Linked DNA regions of Homo sapiens: regions 1, 2, 3 and 4 are each linked to region 5. Evidence: promoter capture Hi-C in 16 types of primary human blood cells and fetal thymus (Javierre and others, 2016). All regions are on one chromosome and are shown on one strand. Each heading gives the region's core, a stretch centred on a gene start or on the middle of the fragment in contact. The rest is flanking DNA. Distances are from core to core; before and after follow the strand shown.

Region 1 (2,700 bases), core at 179-2,678, 160 kb before region 5:
AGTAATATAGTATGTATTATTATAATATTAAGCTGACTTCATATGCATGATACACTTAGCTCTGTTCTAATATTCTTTTATTGCAAGAAATAATGGAAGTAATTTCATGTGGGCAGGGATATATGTAATAAGGGTTATAAGTTTAGAAAATGATCATCTTAAATACATTGTCTTTCTTTTCATTTTGCAGTTTAGTGCTTAGTATCTAGTTACTTGATTTGAAATGTAGCTGTATCATGTGGATTAACTGCTGTTTTTCTAGCTATATCAGCTAGGTGATTTCGCTGAATGTTTCCTTAAAATGCCAGATTTAGCAGTTATAACCCAGAAAACTCCTTCTACTGTTTTCCAAAATTTACTTTATGTTTTCGTGAGGAGTTATTTCTCAGATGACTTTACATATATTAGTGAATCTTTGATGAAACAGTAGTTAAAGTTACGAGCGTGAGCCACCACACCCGGCCTAAAGTTGTAGTTCTTAACCACTATCACATCGTCATTTGTTTCTCTGTTTAATATTAAAATTGCCATTTATAATGTATTTTTCTTTAAGTGCAAATAGTGTATCTGACCTATTATCAATCATGTTTATACTTTTATTAGGTGGACCACACAGGAGAATATGGAAATCTGGTGACTATACAGTCATTTAAAGCAGAATTTCGCTTAGCAGGAGGTGTAAATTTACCAAAAATAATAGATTGTGTAGGTTCCGATGGCAAGGAGAGGAGACAGCTTGTTAAGGTGAGCCTTCCCTTCTCTGGCTTAGCCCTTAGAGTTTTAGTGATGAAAATTTTTAGTTCATATTTTCTTTCTGCTTTATTTGGGATTTTGTCTTTATTTTGAATACTTACAAATGAGGAAGATTTGTAGAGTAGAAATGCATTATTTTCTAGAACCAGGCTTTTCTCCATTTTTTTTGTGTCTCTGAAAGACAATCATTATTATATGGTTGATTCAAGTAAAAGAATACCATTAACATGTACAGACATGTACAGTGAGGTTGCTTCTTATGAAAAAAAATACTTTGGTGTCTGTCTCTTATTTCCTTGAATAGTGCAAGTTGACGTCCTTTGCATCAGTATACCGGGTCTCGTACTGTGCCAAGTGCTATTTAATGTACCAAAAAGGGAGAGCATTCTTCCCTTACCATTTGCTGACGAGCTCTTTGGGTCCTACTGGGGAGTGGTGGAAAGACACAGTGCTGTTTTACTCAGGTGTTTGCAGTATGCCTTCCTAGGGGGGACTTCCAGTTAATCTAATTACAGAAGTAGCGAGGGGAAACTTTCTAAATCAGTGTAAATGTTGTAGCTTATTCTAAATGAAAGAATGGCAGTAGGTATTTAATTATTTGGGAGACTGTCAAGAGGTGCACAGATGCTCAGATTGGTTTGAGTGCCCTTTGCTATTCTCAGATGACTCTGTGTTTTTATAATAAAATAAACTGTACTTGTTTATTCATGCTTAATTATTCTGAAGGGCCGTGATGACCTGAGACAAGATGCTGTCATGCAACAGGTCTTCCAGATGTGTAATACATTACTGCAGAGAAACACGGAAACTAGGAAGAGGAAATTAACTATCTGTACTTATAAGGTAACTATTTGTACTTCTGTTAGTTCACCAAAAACATATAAAAGATGCCATTTGGTTGGGTGAAGTGGCTCATGCCCATATTCATAATGCTTTGGGAGGCCAAGGTGGGAGGATTGCTTGAGGCCAGGAGTTCGAGACCAGCCTCAGCAACATAGTGAGACCCCATCTTGACAAAAAGTTAAAAAAAAAAAAAAAGCCAGAGATGATGGCATGTGCTTGTAGTCCCTTAGCTACATGGGAGGCTGAGGTGGGAGGATCACTTGAGTCCAGGAGTTTGAGGCTGCAGTGAGCTCAAACTCTGCAGTGAGCCCCAGTCCAGCCTGAGCAACACAGCAAGATCCCGTTTAAAAAAGAAGAAGAAGAAGAAGATGCCATTATTTGGACCAGGAGTCTACAAATGTTTTCTGTGAAGGACCAAATAATAAAGATTTATTTTCTTTGTAAAAAGTATTTATTAATGTTAATTATAGTTAGGTGTTTCTTATAGTCAACTGAAGTATTTTTTCCTTTTTTTTCTACTCAACAATATGTCACAGAAATCTTTCTCATTTTTTAACAGCTGCATTGTGTGTATGTATGTAGTTTTTTATACAAGTCCTTATCGATGGGCATTTGTGTTGTTTTCAGTCTTTTGCTGCTACAAACAACGCTGTATTGTAGTGAATAACCTTGAACATACAAATTTCATACATGCGCAGGCAAATTTGTAGCATGGATTTCCAAAAGTTGGATTGCTGGGTTAGAGGATACATGCATCTGTAATCTGGTACATATTGCCAAATTACTCTCAATGGGAGTGTACCCACTTACATTTCCTCTAGCTATTTGCCTGAGAAGACAATCCTCAGTCACATTCTATGAGCTGATCATCTTTGACTCTTATATTAATTATTCATTTAACCAGTTTAGAAATAACAATAAATCCTTATTTTGAAGGGCCTATTTTCCATAGGTTTGTCTTTTGTGATTTCATTCCTGTACCTCATTTTTAAACTTTCTCCTTCTATAAATGTTGTAACAGGGACTATGGGTGACATGTGCTTTTTTATATATTTCTAGTTTTCCACTATGAACGTGTTTTATTTTTAAAATAATGGCTAAATT
Region 2 (2,700 bases), core at 68-2,567, 140 kb after region 5:
GAGTGTGGTGAAGTATTGTGAGCAGGGAGACTTAGGAGATCAGATGGGAGATGTAGCTAGGACCAGAATACGAAGATCTGGAAAGGTTTGGTAAAGAGTTTGGACTCTTATAAGTGCAATAGGAAGCCAGCTGGAGATTTCAAGCAGGAGAATGTCCTTATTCCATTTGTTTCCAAAAAACTGTGATGCTAAGAGTGTATGCAAGAGAAATGAAAACATATGCCCCCATAAAAACTTGTACATGAATGTTTATACCAGCATTATACCAGCATGTTTATGATGAATGCATAAACAAAACAGCATTATACCAGAATGTTTATGATGAATGCATAAACAAAACATGGTTTATCCATACAATGGCATATTGCTTGTCCGTAAAAAGAAATAAAGTACTGATACATGCTACAACATAGATGGACCTGAGAACATTAAGAGAAAGAAGCCAGTCACAAAAGGCTACATATTGTATAATTCCATTTACGTGAAATGTGCAGAATAGGCAAGTATATATATAAACAGAAAGTAGACTGAAATTTGCTTAGAGCTGGTGGGAATAGAGAGATTGGAGAGGGTGGTAGCTAAAGGGTATAATGCTTCTTTTTGATGCGATGAAAATGTTCTAAAATTGATTGTGGTGTTGGGTGCACAACTCTGTGAATATACTAAAAGCTATTAAATTACACACTTTTAAATGGTTGAATCTCAATAAAGCTGTGGCCCAAAAAAGATTGTGATAAACCCTATAGAAATCCTGAAACTTTCTTCCTGGGTTGACCAAGAGAAGTTTAATAGAGAAGTCATCATTTGAGTTCGCAGTAAAGTATGTGAGAAAATTAGGGGAGAAAAATCTTGCATTTGTAAAATGCATGATTAATTGTCAAGTAATTTTCCAATCTATTTTCCAAGGGACATTATTTTTGTTCTGCAATAAAGATGCTATTAATGGTCACGTAAATTTGAGAAATAGTCATATTTCTTTCTTGGAGATTCACAATGAACTTTATCAGCCTACTAAAAAGTTCTGAGTAATTCTGCAGCTTCTGAGGCTCAGAATAAAAGTGTCTGCTCAAAAGAATTTGAGGCTAAATCACTGGACAAAGTTCTCTCTCATCTCAGCATTAAGGTGACAGGAAGACAGAGCACTTTTTGGAAATGGAAAAGGAAGATACAGTCAAGGAAGACCTGGAATAACACCACAAATGTCTAAACTTATCAAAAAGACAGGAGTATCTCAATTGCTGTGCTCTGAGGGCAGAGATGGAAATCACAAACGTGCCAATATAGGAGCAGAATGAAAGGTCGAAAGAGATTTCCAACTGAATTTAACCCCATAGGGCTTTGGCATCCTAGTAAAACTTGAAACACAGACTTTGTGAATGCTTCTTCTCTCAGATACTTCTGAGTCTCTGCTCTGGTCTTTGCCTGGCAGCAGAACTCTGGGTCTAGGCTGCACTGACAGCTGGGCACTCAGAACCAAAGTGAGGCATGTGAGAAACTTTGGATTGCATTAATTGAAAATCAGAGTTGCTGTGGGAACTCCCAACTCTACTTAGGAATGATATTCGTGTAGTTTTTACTCAACAAATATTTATGGAGCACTTGCTGTGTGCCAGGTGCTGTTCTAGGTACGGGTATACAGCAGGGAGCAAAACAGAAAAAAATTCCCTGCCCTCATATGACCAATATTCTAGTGCAATGGACAAAAATAAGAGGAAATATACATGGTAAAAGGCCTTTGTGGAAAGATAATTTTGTCTTTTTTTGAGATGGGGTCTTGCTCTGTTGCCCGGCTGGAGTGCAACAATGCAGTCATAGCTCACTGCAGCCTCAACTTTCTGGGCTCAAGCAATCCTTCTGACTCAGCCTCCTGAGGAGCTGGGACTACAGGCATGCACCACCACACCTAGCTAATTTTTTATTTTTTGTGGAGATGGGGTCTCACTATGTTGCTCTGGCTAAGAAAAGGGGATTTTTGATAAAAGACTTAAAGGAAGTAAGGAAGCCAGCTTCAGAAGGAATAGTAGATGTAAAGACCCTAATGTTGAAAACATGCCTGGTGTGTTCAAGGAAGAGCAAGGAGGCTGGTATAACCAGAGCTCAGAGAGTAGGGGGAAAGTAGTAAAAAATGAGGTCAAAGAGAACACAGGAAGTCAGATCATGGGGTTCTTACAGGTCATAATAAGGACCTCACTTTTTACTCTGAATGGGACCGTAAGCCATGGAGAGTTTTGAGCAGGGGAGTGACATGATTAGACTCAGATTTTAACAGGATCACTCTACCTGCTGTGTGAAGAGACAGGAGGTAACAATGATAGAAATTAGGAGAACAGTAAGAGGCTAATGCAATGATGTGAGAGAAGGAAGAGAAAGGTGGGTGGGACCAGGTTAGTGGTAGTGGCAGTAATAAAAAGTTACTGAATTCTGAAGATATCTCAACAATGGCCCGGTTGTTTAAAAAAAACTGAATTCTGAAGATATTTTGAAGGTTGAGCTAACACAATTTATAAATGGAGTGAGGATGTCCATTTAAGAGTGACACTAAGTTTTAACCTGAGAAACTCAAAGGATTGAATTGTAATAAGCTGAGCTGGAGCAGATTGAGAGGAATGGTTTGAAGGAGTGAACTTATCAGGGCTTAAGGCTAAGCTGGACATGTTAAGCTTGAAGTTTTAGCCATCCAAGTGGAGTTGTCAAACAGGT
Region 3 (2,700 bases), core at 54-2,553, 140 kb before region 5:
TCTCAGCTCCATGTATCCTTCACCTCCCAGGTTCAAGTGATTCTCCTGTCTCAGCCTCCCGAGTAACTGGGATTATAGGCACCTGCTACCACACCCAGCTAATTTTTGTATTTTTAGTGGAGACAAGGTTTCACCATGTTGGCCAGGCTGGTCTCTTAACTCCTGACCTCAGGTGTCAGGCCTCCTCAGCCTCAAGGTGCTGGGATTACAGGCGGGAGCCACCACACCCAGCCTAAAAATTTTTTAAATATAAATATATCATCTCCATTTTAAATTATACCAGTAGTTACTTCATTTTTAAAAATCACCCTTTAACCTAGATTTCTCTAGTTGGGTTAAGAAGTAGTTAGGTTATTTGGATTTGAGGTGGATCTCACAGACAGTGACAAAGATGAGGAAGGCAGCCAGAGCAGAAGTAAACTACTGTACATACTAGTGTTCATAGAACGTAGGTAACATGTGGTTTCTTGCCTTTGTAAAGTTCACATTCTAACTGGAAAGAAAGTAAATTAGCTGTCAAACCTCCTAACTTCACTGTATTCTTTACTTTAGGTGTTGCTTTTGAACAGGGCAAAATCCTTCCTACTCCTGAGACAGTTCCTTTTAGACTCACCAGAGATATTGTGGATGGCATGGGCATTACGGGTGTTGAAGGTGTCTTCAGAAGGTAAGTGATATGAAGTAAAGGAGGGAAATAATTTTTGATGTCAAAATTACATGGGCTGGGCATGGTTCTTTGCACCTGTAATCCCAGCTGCTCAAGAGGCTGAAGTGGGAGGATTGTTTGAGCCCAGGAGTTTGAGTCCAGCCTAGGCAATACAGCAAGACCCTGTATCTAAAAAAATACACACACACAAACACACACACACACACACACACACACACACACACACGGGTTAGAGATTTGTATAGATTATAGAATTTAGTGCTAGAATCGTATTCCAGTGCCTTATCAATACTAAGGAAAAGACCCTGGGTAAAAGCAATAATAGTTCCTCTTCCTTCCACCCACCTGGGACCTAAGCCCATGTAACATACATACTGTTATTCCAAACCTCCTCTGGAAGCATCCCACCTTTACTTTTAACACCTCTATCCTGGCTGACTCCTTCTTAATGATCCAAACTACTATTGGGTGCTCATCACTGTGCATATAGAAGAGACTACATTTTTATTTATAGGAGCTTGTGTTCTAGTATAACATTGTGCTACTAAAAAAGCTTTGCAGTTCCTTGTAGTTTTCCCAGCATAGGTCTGTGTACTCAACTTGGATTGGGGCAGATTGCAGTCAGTGTAAACTAATAATTGCCACAATAATCAAAGACTGAGAGCTGAGCCCAGTGGTGCATGCCTGTAATCAATAGTGTTGTGTTATTCTTGTAAATGCCAAGCTTGTGAAATAGTCAAATACATATTTGTATTCATTTCAAACGTCTAATGAAAGCCCACTCTGCCAAGTATTATGCTATTTTGAGATACAGATATGTAGATTATTAAGCATAGGCTCAGCATACTACACATGAGAGTATACAGATAAAGATACGTTGACAACATTGGTGTGTAACAAAATCCGTATTTATAATGTGTTTGACTCTAGATGCTGTGAGAAAACCATGGAAGTGATGAGAAACTCTCAGGAAACTCTGTTAACCATTGTAGAGGTAAAGTATTTTATAAGGAAGACTTTATTTTTTTTCTTACCAGGTAGACTGTGTATCTCATCAGGAAGTCACTGATGTGAAGAGCACTGCTTCATTTTAACATAGGGGGATGTGGCTGGGCAGCAGAAAGGAGGAGATTGTGCACTTAGCCTTTTCACACATCCAAAAATACTGGTTTAGAAATGCCTTCAGCCCCCTTGAGTTTCTTGGAATGTTAGAGCATTGTAAGTAGTCTCTAGTTTTCAATTCATAAATCAATTCTTTGACATTTAGATATTCCATATGGTATTATTATTTTCAGAATGGTTTCCATTAGGGTTTAAGAAAAATCAGAAATTTATATCTCCTTTTTCCCTGCTCAGGTTCAGAACTAATTAGTCAGACAAATGGAGATCAAATTGTCAGCATCATTACTAGAGGAACATGGCTTAGGAATGAGGGCCAGACTAGTTTACTGCTGGTGCTACCTCAGTACCTCTCTGCTGTCTTAACTTTGGGACAGCTCACCTGAATAGGGTTTGGGCCTGCAGAGCAAACACATGTAATCAGGATCACTGCCTTGTCTTGATCCAGGGCAGAAAAAAGGAAGTCAAACAAATTTCAGTGTCTGTGCTGTTAGTACCTATGCCAGTCATTCACCAATCTGGTAAGGGTATGTGAGACAAGAAATCAGGAGTGTGGCCTCCCCAGGGAAGCATGGCAGGTAGAGTGCAGTATGGGCTTGCCACTTTTCCACTACTCAGCTTTTCTTCCTTTAACCTGATTTATGTTGGACTGGCTGCATGTTAGTATTACTTTTACTGCATTTAAAAAACATTGATGCTGATCAAATTCAAACCAGGTTTCTAGAGATGGGGCAGGAATATGTGCATTTTTAAAAATCTCTCCTACTGTTCAACTAGGATATGAGAACTGTCTTAATTCATTGGCATTAACCATTAAGCCTGTGGTCAATAAGGGTGGGGCTTTATCCCTTGGAAGATGAGTAACAGTCCATCAGGGTGGTCCTGTGTGCACCTTTATGAACCGAGGCATCTTT
Region 4 (2,700 bases), core at 18-2,517, 220 kb before region 5:
AATACTTGGCATGTGATAGGTATCCAATAACTGTTTTAAAATAAATGAATGTACTTGAAAAAAAATTACATGATGCTTCAAAAACATCAAAGCTGAAAATCATTTGAGTAACTTTAAAATGTAAGCAATCAATAATAAAAGATTACTATATTGTTCAGCAGTCACATAAAGTATTAAAACTAATATTTCAGTATTTGAATATGCCGACAGTAATGTTTTCATAAACTAGATTTTGTGTCTAACTCCTCAGGTTTGGAACTGTTTTTAGTAAGACCATAATGCATTGCAAGGATTTCTAATGAATATGTTTAGTAGTTCAAGCCCTTATTAAATTTCACAGATAAAAGCAAATGTATGCTGAACTTTAAGGACTGAGGTAATATAAGACTGAATTGAATGTAATAAGGCGGCAGTGTAGTGGTGGCATTAAAAAAACTGAAGATTCAAAAAGTATAAATTCAAGAATAACATGCAAGTAGCATTCTTTTTTTTAATTTTACACTTGTTAGATTTTGTCTTAGTCCCTTTGTGTTGCTATAAAGGAATACCTGAGGCTGGATATTTACAAAGAAAAGAGGTTTATTTGGCATATGGCGTCTACATCTGGTAAGGGCCTCAGACTCATGGCAGAAGGCAAAGAGGAATCAGTGTGTGCAGAGATCACATGGTGAGAGAGGAAGCAAGGGTGGAGGCGGGGAAGGCCATGCCAGGCTCTTTTTTTTAATAACCAGCCCTTGTGGGAACTGAATAGTGAGAACTCACTCATTCCTTACCCTCAGGCCTTAATCTATTCGTGAGGGATCTGCCCCCATGACTCCGACACCTCCCATTAGGCATAACCTAATGGGGATCAGATTTCAACATGACATTTGGAGGGGTTAAACATTCAGACAATAGCAGATATCTAATGTTCAGCTATTTTAAGAGCAGTGAGTGAAACTAGAAGAATCAGAGGAACATAAACAATTATAAAAGCTTCGATTACTAAAAAAGGATAAAAGACAAAGTTGATTAAAGAGTTATCCTTAAATATGTGGGTGTTACGCAAAAGGTGTACTGATCAACTTTTTTCCATCACATAAAACAAAATTTAAATGGTACATAAAAACATTAACTTACCCGCTTTCAGAGTGATTAAATGTTAGAGCAGGTTGACATTGGAATCTGTGGACTCAACTAATTGGTGTTCGGCCAGAGAACAGTTTATCTTTTCTGGCTAGTTTGAGTTCAGTGCTGTTCAAATTTGAGCAATAGTTAAAATATATTTTGAGACCCTCTTCAGTTCTAGGAGAAAATAGATTTTGTATTCAAGACCTTAATACTAAGCTGCTGGTCTGAACCTCTTTAAATAAACTCAGGTTTTGTTAGTCTTTAAGAAAGAGCTAGTATGTTATTATGTCTCACAGAGTGATTTATTTTTGTTCTGGAATATGCTTTGGAAAGTAGGGTTTGAAATTAGAAAATTATTTCACTTTTTGTTTGTTTGTTTGCTTGCTTGTTTTAAGATTGTTCCAGGACACGAAGGGAGATTCTTCCAGGTTACTGAAAGCACTTCCTTTGAAGCTTCAGCAAACAGCTTTTGAAAATGCATACTTGAAAGCTCAGGAAGGAATGAGAGAAATGGTAATTTTAAGTAACATGTATTTGCTGTTATCATATGCTTGCTATGAATATCCCATAAATTACTTCACCAAGTTTGGTATAAGAGAGTTTATAATCCAGTAGTTTACAGTATAAAGCTGCTCTAAAACAACTGTATGAATTGATTGAAACTGCATTCTTTCTGGGTCACAATGGGTCAAATCATAGCAATTTCTTTTGGTTTAGCATTTTTATGGAGAAACCCAAAATTTAACTGAGTTTTTATGGGAGTATAAATGGCTCCCTTTTTTATTTTAAAAATCCTTTTATATGTGATCTGATTAAAAGCTAATTAAGGGAACAGGTGACAATGGGAAGAAATGGATTGAGGAGAAGAATCTCACACAAAATCAAATCATTGTGGTGTTTACAGTGAAACTTGTGATATTTCACGTTTCTGTAGAATAATATATTTTTTATGGTAATGATTATCTTAGAGTTCAAATTTTTTCATTTATTTATGCCCTGGTTTGTTTCTTACAAGTATTTAAGGTAGTTAAATAACTGTCAAGTCTGTGATAGCAGGAAATTGAAAGGAACAATTGAAAGAATGTGAGTTTAGAAAAGAATTTCAATAGATTAGAAAGATAAGTGTAAATAACATAAAATCTAATGAGATAATGTATATTATACATTTTAAATCAGCCTGTCATCTGCAAAAAGGGAAAATACTGATCTGACAGCAATTCATTTAGAAAAAGACCTAGGAAGTTTTGTATCTTGTGATTATAGTATGAATCAACATTGTATTACAGTTACCAAAAAGGCTAACTCTGTCTTACACTGCATTAATAGAAGCATATTGTCATGAACAAAGTTAATACAAGAACTTGGATCTTTTATACTTTTTGCTTTATTTTTAGATCTTTTAATTTTTATGGGTACATAGTAGGGGTGTGTGTGTGTGTGTGATACGGGTATACAATGTGAAATAATCACATCATGGAGAATGGGGTATCCATCCCCCAAACAAATATCCTTTGTGTTACAAGCAATCCAATTACACTGTTTTAGTTATTAAATGTTTCTGTATTTTTTAGAGGATAACTATAATGTTTG
Region 5 (2,700 bases), core at 123-2,622:
ATCTTCCTGGATTTCTCCAGTCTCTGGCAGTGCTTCAATGTTGCCACTGCACTCTGTACATACCTTCAATTATCTTGTACAGTGATCAGTTATTTGCATGTCTTTGACCAACAGACTGTAAGTTCCTTGATGGTCAGGCATTGTCTTTTCATCCTTAGATTCCCAGCAGAATTACCAAACACAGAAGTAGACATCAAAGAAGTATTTCTTGAATGAATGAAATTTTAAAAATCATTAAATCTAAAAGTGAATTATGTTTGGTTCCTAAATTCTCTGCTTTGCCCAGCTGTCAAGACCCCCTTACCCCTTTCCCAAGTTGGGACACACTTCTGGCAGCTATGTTCCCAGCTGGACTAGCAGGGGCAGAGGCACTGGTTTATTCTAATTGTCTCTTCGCTGATACAACAAGGTGCTAGTTGGCCAGAGCCCCAAATTATACATTAGCAAATCCTGACTGACAACAGCGTGAAACCAGCAGGACAAGTTTTAAGAAGTTGCAAAGGTTAAGACGTGAAGGACAACGTGGGAGGAGGACCGGGCAGAAAGGGATTCAGGACGAGATCCATCTCACCCTCCGTGGAGGGAAAACCGAATGATTTCTACTGAGTTTCCCTAGTTCCTGTAATCTGCTTTCAAAAACTCAGAACTAAAAAGGAAACAAAAAACTAACACGTAAACCCCTCCTCCTTCCTACGGCTCTGACATTTCCTCTGCGTAGGATTTCGTTGCTCCAAACCCACCAGGCCTAAGCCATGTAATCCGACGCGATCCGTCGGCTTGATGACTCACCACTGGAAAGCGCTCCCTGCAATCCCTCACAGTTCAGACAACTAAGTCCGAGATGGAAGGCAACGTGTGACTCACGGCACACTCCTTGTAACGCCCGGGCGCCGTCCATTCGCAACATCAGTCCCTGCACATTAAATGCGGAAGGGCCCTTCAAGTTCATTCATTCATTCATTCCACAAACTTTCGTGGTGATTTTTGCCCGCTTTGAGTATGGGCGGGAGGAGGGAAGAGGAGCTGACCAGACCCAAAAAGGGGCGACACACGCCGGGGAGGGACGCCACGCAGGCCGCGGGCGGACTCCCGGGCGGCGGGGACGCGCGGGGACCCGGCCGCGGGACGAGGGAGGCCGGCGGCTGGACACTACCTGCGGGAGAGCGAGTGAGGTTCTGGCCCTCCGAGTTGACCGCCTGCAGGTAGAAATAGCGGACCGGCAGGACGACGGCCGCCTGCAGCCCGGGCCCCCACACCAGGCTCCGCGGCGCGCTGACCAGCACCTCCGGGGCCCCCGCGGCCACCAGCAGGGCGAGGCGCAGCTGCAGCAGCAGGGCCCGCGGGAGGCGGCGCATGGTCGGCGGGGCACAACTGCGGTCCAGCTCCGCGGCGGCGAGGAGGGGCCGGCAGCGCCGCGGACCGGGCGGGGACTGGGGCCCACCGCGGGGCGGGTCTTTCGGGCGGGAAAGATTGCGGCGCAGGCTCCCTTTCCCGCCCGCTGTCCCGCCTCGTCTCCCTCGGGCGGGAACGCGAGCCAGTGCCGCAATCACCCACTGCGCGCCCTGTAGGGGTCGACGATGGGTGCGCCCCTTCCTCCCCGCAGCCCCATAGGCCCCGTGGAGGAAAGGGGTGGAGAGGCCCGCCCAGAGACCGAGGCTGCGAGTGTGCGCTGGCTGTTGATTGCCAAGGCTTCAGGCACGCCTGGCCTCCACTTCCAGTGGTCTTTCCCTTTCTTTTTCTTCCTTCCTTTCCTTCTTTCTTCTCTTTTCTTTCTCTGTTTTTATACAGACAAGGGGGCTGGCTCTGTCGCCTAGGCTGGAGTGCAATGGCGCGACCACAGCTCACTGCAGCCTGGAACTCGTGGGCTCAGGAGATCCTCCCGCCTCAGCCTCCCGAGTAGCTGGGACTGACTGTAGGCACACGACACCACGCTGGCTAATTTAATTTATTATTATTATTATTATTATTATTATTATTATTATTATTACTATTACTATTTGTAGAGACGGGGTCTCCCTATGTTGCCCAAGGTGGTCTTGAACTCCTGGTTTCAAGCAATCCGCCCGCCTCGGCTTCCCAAAGTGCCGGGATTACAGGCATGAGCCACCGGGTCCGCCGCTCAGGTGTTTTTAAAGGACGTAGACCCGGTGGTGATTGTTGTGGGACGATGAAAGGGTCCGGCCCCAAGATCGATGTAGTTTAGGGAAATATCTTTTCCCAAGGAATGTCTCCGAGTTTACAAGATGAGCGCCAAGGTCACGCCCCCCGCCCTCCCTCACAGCCCTCTGTTCACAGCAGCACCGTTCTCTTGTGGCCGGTTTTGTTGCTTTTCTGCTTAGCAGCCTCCCTCACAGAACCGTGATCCCCCCACCCCACACATCCCTTTCCCCGCTTCCTCCCGCACTCCTCTTCTTCCAGCAGGTGTTTACAGAACATCCACGGAGTTTGGGCCAAGCCCAGAGTGAGGAGCTGGGCACTGGGGTGGCAGAAGACCAGGCCTTGCCTTGAGCCCTTGTGCGAGCTTTACCTCAAAGCCTCTGTAATCGAAGTGGGAGAAGGGGTGGTGGTGCGTGGTTGGTCTCAGCCACCTCCACCACTCCTCAGAAGATGAACGCTGGATCCAGGAAGAGATTGTCAAGGTTACTATCTGCCTCTCTTTTTTGATCATTTTATCCAATTTGTTAATGGATACAAATTTGT

What was found. Contacts are between HindIII fragments. The CHiCAGO score rates a contact against its expected background, and 5 or more counts as called.
Region 1: a contact is called between a fragment that was not itself captured here and the fragment with the promoter of POGLUT3 in region 5, in 3 of 17 cell types (naive CD4 T cells, total CD4 T cells and naive CD8 T cells). The highest score is 7.3, in naive CD4 T cells.
Region 2: a contact is called between a fragment that was not itself captured here and the fragment with the promoter of POGLUT3 in region 5, in 5 of 17 cell types (naive CD4 T cells, total CD4 T cells, naive CD8 T cells and 2 more). The highest score is 7.0, in naive CD4 T cells.
Region 3: a fragment that was not itself captured here is called in contact with the fragment with the promoter of POGLUT3 in region 5 in 4 of 17 cell types (naive CD4 T cells, naive CD8 T cells, total CD8 T cells and 1 more); the score reaches 7.8 in naive CD4 T cells.
Region 4: a fragment that was not itself captured here is called in contact with the fragment with the promoter of POGLUT3 in region 5 in 1 of 17 cell types (erythroblasts); the score reaches 5.6 in erythroblasts.

What each region holds. Positions count from the first base shown.
Region 1 is chr11:108,334,366-108,337,065 of GRCh38, forward strand. It overlaps ATM (ATM serine/threonine kinase), which reads left to right. Exons shown (of 63, transcript NM_000051.4): 55 at 604-744; 56 at 1,480-1,596. It also overlaps a transcript of C11orf65 not described here. Among named protein-coding and RNA genes, the nearest start is that of ATM, 110 kb to the left of the region's middle. The HindIII fragment of the contact is 3,297 bases long and covers 1-2,700 here.
Region 2 is chr11:108,637,510-108,640,209 of GRCh38, forward strand. No RefSeq gene overlaps it. Among named protein-coding and RNA genes, the nearest start is that of DDX10, 26 kb to the right of the region's middle. The HindIII fragment of the contact is 2,682 bases long and covers 1-2,658 here.
Region 3 is chr11:108,353,214-108,355,913 of GRCh38, forward strand. ATM (ATM serine/threonine kinase) reads left to right here. Exons shown (of 63, transcript NM_000051.4): 60 at 553-667; 61 at 1,598-1,661. It also overlaps a transcript of C11orf65 not described here. Among named protein-coding and RNA genes, the nearest start is that of C11orf65, 110 kb to the right of the region's middle. The HindIII fragment of the contact is 171 bases long and covers 1,219-1,389 here.
Region 4 is chr11:108,277,986-108,280,685 of GRCh38, forward strand. ATM (ATM serine/threonine kinase) reads left to right here. Exons shown (of 63, transcript NM_000051.4): 23 at 1,506-1,623. Among named protein-coding and RNA genes, the nearest start is that of ATM, 56 kb to the left of the region's middle. The HindIII fragment of the contact is 588 bases long and covers 974-1,561 here.
Region 5 is chr11:108,497,012-108,499,711 of GRCh38, forward strand. It overlaps POGLUT3 (protein O-glucosyltransferase 3), which reads right to left and starts at 1,373. Exons shown (of 8, transcript NM_153705.5): 1 at 1,154-1,373. The coding sequence starts at 1,355. It overlaps LOC112267909 (a long non-coding RNA gene), which reads left to right and starts at 2,050. Exons shown (of 3, transcript XR_007062880.1): 1 at 2,050-2,639. RefSeq lists a silencer at 1,006-1,525. The HindIII fragment of the contact is 8,220 bases long and covers 1-2,700 here.